Linked DNA regions of Homo sapiens: region 1 is linked to region 2. The links are contacts of gene promoters, found by promoter capture Hi-C in blood cells and fetal thymus (Javierre and others, 2016). All regions are on one chromosome and are shown on one strand. Each heading gives the region's core, a stretch centred on a gene start or on the middle of the fragment in contact. The rest is flanking DNA. Distances are from core to core; before and after follow the strand shown. Region 1 overlaps PRAG1 (PEAK1 related, kinase-activating pseudokinase 1). Region 2 holds the start of MFHAS1 (multifunctional ROCO family signaling regulator 1).

Evidence for each region. The method cuts DNA at HindIII sites, captures the fragments that hold promoters and counts their contacts. A CHiCAGO score of 5 or more calls a contact.
Region 1: a contact is called between a fragment that was not itself captured here and the fragment with the promoter of MFHAS1 in region 2, in 1 of 17 cell types (activated CD4 T cells). The highest score is 5.7, in activated CD4 T cells.

Annotation. Positions count from the first base shown.
Region 1 is chr8:8,369,520-8,374,609 of GRCh38, forward strand. All of the region lies in intron 3 of PRAG1 (PEAK1 related, kinase-activating pseudokinase 1), which reads right to left. Among named protein-coding and RNA genes, the nearest start is that of PRAG1, 14 kb to the right of the region's middle. RefSeq lists a silencer at 1,740-1,839. The HindIII fragment of the contact is 1,321 bases long and covers 2,992-4,312 here.
Region 2 is chr8:8,892,040-8,896,989 of GRCh38, forward strand. It overlaps MFHAS1 (multifunctional ROCO family signaling regulator 1), which reads right to left and starts at 1,591. Exons shown (of 3, transcript NM_004225.3): 1 at 1-1,591. The coding sequence starts at 1,019. It also overlaps the pseudogene RNU6-682P. RefSeq lists enhancers at 1-11, 12-972 and silencers at 817-1,086, 1,197-1,476, 1,487-1,736. The HindIII fragment of the contact is 4,068 bases long and covers 1-1,973 here.

The DNA of each region.
Region 1 (5,090 bases), core at 2,402-4,901, 520 kb before region 2:
GTGCCTTTCTGGAAAACGAAATAAACACGGCACTGTCTCTGTTTACAACTGCCCATTTAACAAACATTTCTTGAACATCTACTACATGTGATGCATTGAGCTCAACCTTAGGAATTGCAGATGGTTAAGCATGCACTTTACCTTCAAAGTGCATCTGGTCTATTTTGTAAAAAATAAACTTTTTTTTTTTTTTTTTTACAAGCTTGTACTAATCCTGATCTTGGATCAAGTTGAAACAGACACAGTTAAGGGAGAGGACTATAAGGTACTCCTGGACACAGAGCTGAGCTTACCTTTGTGTTCCCTAAACAGAACAGAGGATGTGGTGAGAATCCAGGTCCTATAAGAACCTGTCTCAACAAAGGGAATCAAAGCAGGGGTCAAGCTTTGACAGTCATATTGCACGCCTGCTGATTTAATTCTTAGCAACTCAATTCTCAGGATCCTTAAGGAACAGAACCCCAGTAACTGGCTTTTTAGCGCCTTGCACAGAGCCCACTCAAAAGTAGACAATTAATAGATATCTGATAAATTAAAGAAAGAATCTCTAATTGCTAGCCTTAGTCAAGAATGTATGCTCAAAATTAGACAGAAAGTCTTAAATGTTGAATACATACTGCTGTCAAATCAGTAATTTTTAAAGAAGTTGTAGAACAAGACTCTAGGAATCAATTTCAATGGTCCCTGCTTACAGCATTATGAGATGTCCTGTGTTTCAAGGTTCCATCCCCACACTTATGGAAACAGGCCAACTATGAATTTGCCCCTGGCATGGCACAGAATATAAACATGCATTGTTGGTACATATGCTTTGTTCTGTTTGCCAAACTCTGTGTATCTGTGGGGGCCACTGAAATACGGCCAGTATTCATTCTCCCCTGACCAACTTGACCTCCAGCCTACTTATTTAAGTTTTGTCAAAATGGCTAAACACAGTCCATGAAGATTCTCTAAATACAGTGCTTCCTAATACAAACTGTGATTTTCAAAATGCCGCCCAGAAAAGGCCGTTATGCATCAAGAGTATGGGATTTCCTAGTAAAATGTTGCCACCCAACTGTCTGTCATCCATTATAGCAGAAAGGGCCTCTAGAAGAACACATTGGAAGCTCTAATCAGATTCGATGTGGACACTGGAGACAAACACCCATCTCACTCATCCTATGCCCATCCTCCCGGTTCATGCCCAGAGATCATGTTACAGGAGAGCCCACACAGTGAAGTCATGTCAGTTCCTCTGGTTACTGATGTGGCCACTTCTGTGGACAGAAACGAACTCCACTCATGACACTGTCACTACCTGTCTACTGAGAAGCAGCTCAGGAGGAGAATTAAGAGTGAGCAAAAGACCGGGGGCTGTAGCTCACACCTGTAATCCCAACACTTTGGCAGGTGGATTACTTGAAGTAAGGAGTTCGAGATCAGCCTGAGCAACACGGTGAAACCCCATCTCTACTAAAATATAAAAATTAGCCATGCGTGGTGGCGCACCTGTAATCCCAGTTACTTGGGAGGCTGAGGCAGGAAAATCGCTTGAACCCGGGAGGCGGAGGTTGCAGTAAGGCAAGGTACCACCACTGTACTCCAGCCTGAGCGACAGAGATTCTGTCTCAAAAAAAAAAAAAAAAAAAAGAGTGAGCAAAAGCCCAAGAATAGATTTAACCTCTGCTCCCCAGCAGCCCCACAGAAAAAGGGGTGAATTTAGCAAGTTGTGGGTTAAAATTGAAATTCAATTGAGCGAAAACTTTCTTTTTTTTTTGAGGTGGAGTCTCGCTCTGTCGCCCAGGCTGGAGCTCAGTGGTGCGATCTCGGCTCCCTGCAAGCTCCGCCTCCCGGGTTCACGTCATTCTCCTGCCTCAGCCTCCCGAGTAGCTGGGACTACTGGCGCCCGCCATCACGCCTGGCTAATTTTTTGTATTTTTAGTAGAGAGGGGTTTCACCGTGTTAGCCAGGATGGTCTCGATCTCCTGACCTCGTGATCCACCCGCCTTGGCCTACCAAAGTGCTAGGATTACAGGTGTGAGCCACCGCGCCCGACCATGAGTGATAACTTTCAAACAAAGACATCAGCTGGGCGTGGTGGCTCATGCCTGCAATCCCAACACTTTGGGAGGCTGAGGCAGGTGGATCATTTGAGCCCAGGAGTTCGAGACCAGCCTGGGAAACATGGTGAAACTCCGTCTCTACAAAAATATAAAAATTAGCGGGGGCATGGTGGCACGTGCCTGTAGTCCCAGCTACTCAGGAGGCTGGGGTGAGAGGATCACCTGAGTCTGACAAGTGGAGGCTGCAGTGAGATGGCACCACTGCACTCCAGCCTGGGCGGCAGAGTGAGATTCTGTCTCAAAACGAAACACACAAAAAACAAAGACGTCACCCACTTTCTTGGGGAAATTTTTCTTTTGATTAGTCTCACCTAGGGCCAGACCATTTAGACACTGAAACCACATGAATCGGTCTTATTTCTTAGTCACCTGTCATCCTCAATTCCACCTGGGCTCAGGCCTCTTCTCCTAACTTGAGGTTTCTTGGTGAAACGCTTATCTGCACTAACCAGATGATTCTCTTTCAGCTGACCTAGTCACCCAAAAGTCATTAAGTCATTTAAAACCGGGTTTGCATCTGTGAAAAAGCAAAAGGCAGAAAGCAATTTGGTTCTTTCTCATCTTAATTGTTTCCCCAGCTCTGCTGTTCTCGTTAATGTTGGCCAGGCTGGTCTTGAACTCCTTACCCCAAGTGATCCACCCGCCTTGGCCTCCCTAAGTGCTGGGATTATAGGTGTCAGCCACCATGCCTGGCCAAATTGCCATTAAGTCTTAAGCATGACATTTAAACTATGAGTTCACCCTTCTTTCCTGAAGTATTTTTGTTTCCTAACCAGCAGTATTTGTTGATCCTCATCTTATAATTCTGCCTTATATTGGGACAGGGGTGACCCAGAGACTCTGTGAGATCCATCATTCTTAGTAAGTGTGACTTTGTGGGTATAAAAGCTTGCCTTGACGGCAACAGGGAAGGAAGTATCCAGGCCTTGCCGTACCCGCCTGGGTTGGAGGGTTGGGCAGGCACTTAACCTCCTCCAAAGAAGAACTGTTCTGGGCATAAAATGAGCATGGAGAGCCTTTCTCCTGCAGGGCACTCCAGCAAGAGGTTTCTCAGGAACACGAATGGGAGTTTACAGAGGACAATATCTCAAAAAGACAGATAAGCTACTGCCAAACATTCAAAACAGGACCACAGGAAAGCCAAGTCATTCTTAACATCTATTTTTTTCCCTCCAGGTCAGAATCAGTTTTGTAAAATAGGGCGATAAACAGAACAACAGGCAAAAGAGAAAATCATTCCCCGTTCTTCCATAATGACCTAAGGAAGCAGACGATCTGTCTCTCTCACACCATGTAAGTGGAAAGAAACAGTGTCCTGTATGAAGCAAGTCCTTTTTCTAGAGGTGTGAGCGTAGGTAACGCACATAATGAAGCTGATCATTAGAAATAGGATCTATTTCACAAATGGGCCCATGTGAAGAAATCAGGTTGACCTTGTATGTTGCTTGAAGACCTTTCACGTTCTTCCATTTTGGAAAACTGACATCAGCCTGCCATAATTACCAGTGTGTACTGGAATTGGTGCCGGATCAACTGCTGGCTGCATTCTCACTAACACTCTGATTTGCCAACACCCTGACCTACTAGGTTGGAAGACTCTGGGGTTCCTGGCACTATCCCCAGCGGAGGTACTGAGTTCCAGAATTAAAAGTCAGCATATGTTCCCAGGCCTGCCCTCTTATCTTCTCACAGGGAGATCCGAAAGATAATGTCAGTAATGCTTGAGAAATGAAAATGCTTCCCCAAATGAAAATATATTCTAGTTTATTTTGAATAAAATAAGATGCTCTTGTTTTTCTGTGTTCTCTTAAGCTAATTTTATTTTCTAGATTTTTTTTTTTTTGAGACAGGGTCTTGCTCTGTTGCTCAGGCAGGAGTACAGTGGCACAATCATAGCTCACTGCAACCTCCACTTTCTGGGCTCAAGCCATCCTCCCACCTCAGCCCCCAGAGAAGCTGGGATGACAGGCATGTGCCACCATCCCTGGCTGATTTTCATATCTTTTTTGGTGGAGACTGGGTTTCACCATGTTGCCCAGGTTGGTCTCAAAGTCCTGGGCTCAAGCAGTCTGCCTGCCTTGGCCTCCCAAAGTGCTATGATTACAGGCATGAGCCACTAAGTCCGGCCCTTCTTTTTAATTCTTTTTTCTCCTCTAACTTGTTTATTTTTTAAGAGCTGAAACCTTGAACCTCCAAGATTCCCATCAAGCTTGAGCTATATGCAATCTAAGGGTTTTATCATAACAAACTGGGCCGAAAAAACTCTGATCTCAACCCAGATGCTAATTAAAACCCTACCTGAGTCATGTTGCTATGGTTACTGGGATTTCTCCAAGCCCCGAGATTCTTAAAGGAGTAAATTTTAGTTACTTCTCCAAGGCTCAGAGTGGCGTTCCTGGGATTGAGCCATGCTAGTTCCCATAGGGTGTGGGTGTCATTGCACAATCAGCAGCCTGGGTGGCTTCTGCCTACATCATCACTAACCTCTGCATTGGATTCCATTGTTTGTCTCATTAGAGGTTTACAATAGCAGGGTGTTATCAAAGTACTATTATCATCTCATTTTAGAGAAGAGACTCCAGACTCTCAGTTTAGAGACCAACTCTTTTAGAGAAGGGACTGGAGACTCAGTCACAGTGAGTGGCTTATACAAGGTCACTCCATTTGTGAGAGAGAGGGAATAGGAACTTGGTTTTCTAATGCCAATACCTGTGCTTTCCACTAATTTACCCAGGACTGAGGCAGGCAGATACAATTTGGATGTTTTACTCTCACGCCCTGCTCAATTTCCATGCTCCTTGATGTCCTGTAGGTTCAGGAGGAGCGTAGACTTAGGAGTCTTGCAGGTACAGCAGGAACCTTAGGCTGGTTACCCTAGCTTTCTATCTCTGCTTTGTCATCTGTAAATTGGGGCTGGCAATTCCTACCTCTTAGGGCTGTTCTGAGGATGAAATGAGTTGTTATGTCTAATTCTTTTAAATCCAT
Region 2 (4,950 bases), core at 341-2,840:
TCCACGATGGAGTCCGGCAGGTAGCGGATGCGGTTATTATCCAGCCACAAGGTGAGAAGCCGGCCCAGGCCCGAGATAAGGGATGGCACCGAGGTGAGCTGGTTGCGACTAAGGTAGAGCTCCTCCAGACCAGCCAGGGGCAGCAGCGCGGCAGGGAACTCCTCGAAGAGGTTGGAGGAGAGGTTGAGCATTTTGAGCCGCTGCAGGCAGCTGAACTGGGCGGGCAGAGCCTGCAGCCCGTTGTTGTCTAGCATGAGGCTCTCCAAACTGGCCAGCTCGCAGAAGCCGGCGGGCAGCGTGCCAAGCTCGGCCCCACTCAGCCAGAGGATCTTGAGGGCACGCAGGGCACTGATATCCTCAGGCAGGCCCCGCAGCCGGTTGCTGGACACGTCCAGCTCCTCCAGGGCCACCAGCTGCAGCAGCTGCCGGGGGAAGGCAGTGAGCTGGTTGTGATCCACGTCCAGGGTGCGCAGGCGGGAGAGGCAGGAGAGGGAGTCAGGCAGGTGCGCCAGCCGGTTAAAGCTGACATCCAGCTCCTCCAGGTGAGCGAGAGCGCCCAGCTGGGCGGGCAGGGCGGGCAGCTGGTTGTGGCTGAGGTTGAGCTTCCGCAGCTCCCTCAGAGCACTCACCACCTCCGCGCCCAGGGCGGTCAGCCGGTTGTGGCTCACGTCCAGCTCGGTGAGGTGGTGGCCGAGCTCGGCCACCGCCGGGGGCAGCCGGGCGAAGCGGTTCCTGCGCAGGACCAGGACGCGCAGGCTGCCCAGCGCCGACCCCAGCCCCTCGGGTACCTCCTCCAGGCCGTTGTTCCCCAGGTTCAGTGCCTCAATGTCCCCGAGGTTGGCCGGCAGCACGAGCTGGGGGGAGGCGGGGGACTCGAGCGCGTCGGCCCCGGCCCCGGGGCAGGCCCCGGCGGCGGTAAGCGTGAGCTGGCGCAGGTTGCTCCGCAGCTTCCTGGCACGCAGGGCGGCGTCCCGCCACAGCCTCGCGGTCTTCAGGTTGCCACTGTCCATCCCAGCCATGGCGGGGCCCCGGGCCGACAGCCTCACGCGGACGCGGGAGCCCGCAGCTACATGCCGCGCCGCGCCCCGGGCCCTCCGGCTCCTGCCCCTGCCTGCCCTCCCGCGCTCGGCGGCCGGCGGCCGCGGGTCCTAGCGCAGCCAGCGGCCGAGCGCTGGCGGCTAGGGGGCGGCGGCGACGCGAGCGGCTCCGGGGGACGCCGAGCGCGTGGAGAGCAGCTTGCATTCTCCCTGCGGCCGGGCCATGGGCGCGCCGGGCAGCAGGGCCGCCGCCCGCGCGCCGCGGAGGATGCCTGCTCCTCCTCCCTCTCCGCCCGCCGCGCGGCGCCTCGGGGGGCCCGGCTCCGGCCCCGCTACCCTCGCAGCCGCGGTCCCGCGGCCGGCAGCGGCGTCGCCTCCTCGAGCTCCTGGGGGAGGGCGGCGCTCGGCCCGGCGGCGGGCATGCTGCGGGCGCAGGGCTGGGGCGCAGCCGCGGGGAGGGGGCGGCGGCGCCTCCTTGTCTCCGTTTCCCCGGGCTCGGGCGGGAGCGCGGGCGCCGCGTCCCCGGCGCTGGGAGGGCGCGATTGGGAAGCGGCAGCGCCGCCCGCCGGAGCGGCCCCCACGTGACCGGCGGAGGCGCCGCGTTTTCCCGGCACCGCCCCGGGGGCGGGAGCTGCGGAGGGCGCCGGGTGCGGGGCCGGGGGCGCCTGGCGCGGGGCCGGGTCCGCGCCCCGGACCATGCTGGGCGGGGAGGTCGTCCCAGCGGCGGATGTGGGGCTCCGGGGCCCCCCTGGTGGGTTCGCCCGCGCCTGGCTCTTTGTTGGCCCCCAGTCTCTAAGGATTTCTTTTTCTTGTTCTCTAATGCGTCGGATCCGCCGGCTTCCCTTACTCATCCTTTACCTGCTCCCCTGCCGCTCGCCTTGCATCCACGCCGTAGTGGAACTGGCACAACTCGGGGGCCCTGGGTATCATCATAGAAGCTTAGGACAAGAGTGTGGTTAAACAAAATTAGAACAGGCAACCATTCATTCATTTGGTAAATATTTCCTGAGGCCCTATTTCGTGTTGAACATGGGACAGGAGTAATGCAGGCTGGTCAGAGGAGAATAAAAAATACCAGGCAGCAGTTTCACTTGACTGGAGGCTATGGGCTGATAAGACCCTGAAAACCAGGGTGTGTACCAAGCTGGCTAAGACCGGCTGGACCCGACGTGGTCCTGGATTTGACCTAGGTTTCTCCTAGGCCTCCATTATACGCTCTTTAACATCCTAAGTCACACCAGTGCCATGACAATTCCGGGGACACCCATATTTGAAGTAAAAATGGGTGGCACCACAGTCCCGAAAAATCTCCACACTTTTCCAGGAATTTTCATGAATATTTCACCCCTTGGTTAAAGAAACCCATAAAGGTAGCAGCCCCAAGCCCCGTTGTGAGTGACCCTCTCCACAATCCCTTTTCCTGGGTGTGTACTTTTCCCTTTGCAATAAATCTGCATATTGTCACTATTTTCTGAGTTGTCCTTGAACTCATTCTCTGGATGTGTCAAGAGCCTGGACATTGGCTGGGGTCAAGGTCGCACTGGCTTTAGAGGATCTCCCCCAGCCCACCCGTACCAGAACTACTAAAAGACGGTTTTAACCCCCCTGGGGAAGGCTTTTGAGCAGGTGGCCCGCCAGCCTAAAGGAGGGTTGTTAAGATGGGGGGGACACAAGCTGTTTATCTGGGGTATCCCGTTTATCTTCACAACAACGCTGTGAAACAAATACTGTATCCCCATTAATACAGTACCTGTTGTTCTGCGGACTCAAGAAAACAGCTATTTTGGGAAACAGTCACAGTCCATTGTTCAACTCTAATGCTTATTTTTATTGCTGTTAGGAAATGTTTCTTTGAGCTCACATCTATGCTAAGTCAATAATTTCTCCCGAACTTATGAAAGTCTGGAAACCTACCAAGACTCCCAGTGTCACCTCCATCATTCCCTTCAGGTTGATTGATAAGGAAGCAAATAGTTTTCAGGGACCGAAAACTGCGTTCAGTTGGTTAAAGGCATCACTTGACCCACTGCAGCTCTCCCCGACATGCGCTATGGCTGTCATTTGGGGACCCATATTTGGTGCAGTAACGTGAGAAGTGTGTGTTTCCAAAAAGAGCACCTGAACATCTGAGGCTGGAAATCCACCCCAGTGATGGTTATCAGGCTGCAGGTAGTACATGCTGTAACTGGAGGATGTTCCCCAGTTCTGCTGGGTCCCTGAGGCTCTGACACCACAGATGAAATGTGAGTAAGTGAACAGCAAGAGCTGATCTGTGTTCACTCTGAAGGACTTCCGAGAGTTCAGATGGCTCAGGGTAGCCCCACCCACACTCCCTCCCAGAGACAGTCAATTTTACAACAAATATTCTGAGTTATCTAGGCTGACCCTTTTTTTCCCCCACAGAGGAGGAAATGGGCTCAAAGTAAGTGACTTCTCAATCAGCCATCAAAGTAGAGTAGAGGCAGGACTGCTAACTCCCCGTGTGGAATGTATTCCCCTGTGATCATCACCTGTACTCACACTGTTCTTGAGCCAGACCCCAAATTCTCCATCCTGCAGCTTCTTCTAACAAAAATATGAACTCAGCCTGGGTAAGGAGACTGGAGTAGGCATCACCATCCTACACCACCTTACATGATTATATCTCAATAACTGCTAACTGTTCCTCTTTAGAAGCCATCAGAAAATTATACTTCCTCCTGCAGAAGCTGAAATCAATTGAAAAAAATGAAAATTGTGCTTGCTTCAGCAGCACATATACTAAAATTGGAAAAATACAGAGAGGATTAGCATGGCCCTGCACAAAGATGACATGCAAATTCATGGTGTTCATTTATTTAATAATATTTTCATTTAAAAAATTATTTTAAAAAAGAAAAATGGCCGGACATGGCATCTCATGCCTGTAATCTCAGCACTTTGGGAGGCCGAGGTGGTGGATCAGTTGAGGTTAGGAGCTCAAGACCAGCCTGGCCAACATGTCAAAACCCCATCTCTACTAAAAATACAAAAATTAGCCAGGCATAGTGGTGCGCACCTTTAGTCCCCAGCTACTCAGGAGGCTGAGGCACGAGAGTTGCTCGAAACCAGAAGGCGGAGGTTGCAGTCAGCCAAGATCACACCACTGCACTCCAGCCTGGGTGACAGAGTGAGACTTTTTCTCTGAAGAAAATTATATTTTCCTTTCTTTTCTTTCTTTCTTTTTTTTTTTTTTTTCTGGAGATGGGGGTCTTGCTTTGTTGCCCATGCTGGACTCGAACTCCTGGGCTCAAGCAGTCTTTTTGCCTGAGCCTCCTGAGTAGCTGGGATTATAGGCATAAGCCACCCTGACCAGCTTATACTTCTATTTTAAATGTCCTTGGAAAACTGCACTCTTCATTTGTCAGGAGATCATCTATAATTTGCTTTATCTAATAAAAAGTACTGGCTAGGACCCTGCGCTAGGGGCTTCAAGCCCCACTAAAGCCCCAAAGCCTGGAGTGAATAAGTGTGCTGGGGGTGGCAATTCTTTGTGAGCCCCTCAGCTGATGCAGTCAATATAGTAGGAAGCCTTGTAAGAATCCTTGTCTATGAGTTCTTTGAAAGTCAGTATGTGAATGGGCACAGGGGTATATGCCTGTAATCCCAGCACTTCCAGAGGCTGAGGCGAGCAGATCATTTGAGCTCAGGAGTTCGAGACCAGCCTGTGCAACAAGGCAAGACATCATCTCTACAAAAAATACAAAAATTAGTAGGGTGTGGTGGCGCACACCTGTAGTCCCAGCTACTCAGGAGTGACGCGGGAAGATCACTTGAGGCTGGGAAGTGGAGGCGGCAGTGAGCCAAGACTGCACCACTGTACTCCAGCCTGGGAAACAGAGTGAGACTCTGTCTCAAAATACAACACAACACAACAAAAGAAAGTCAGTATGCT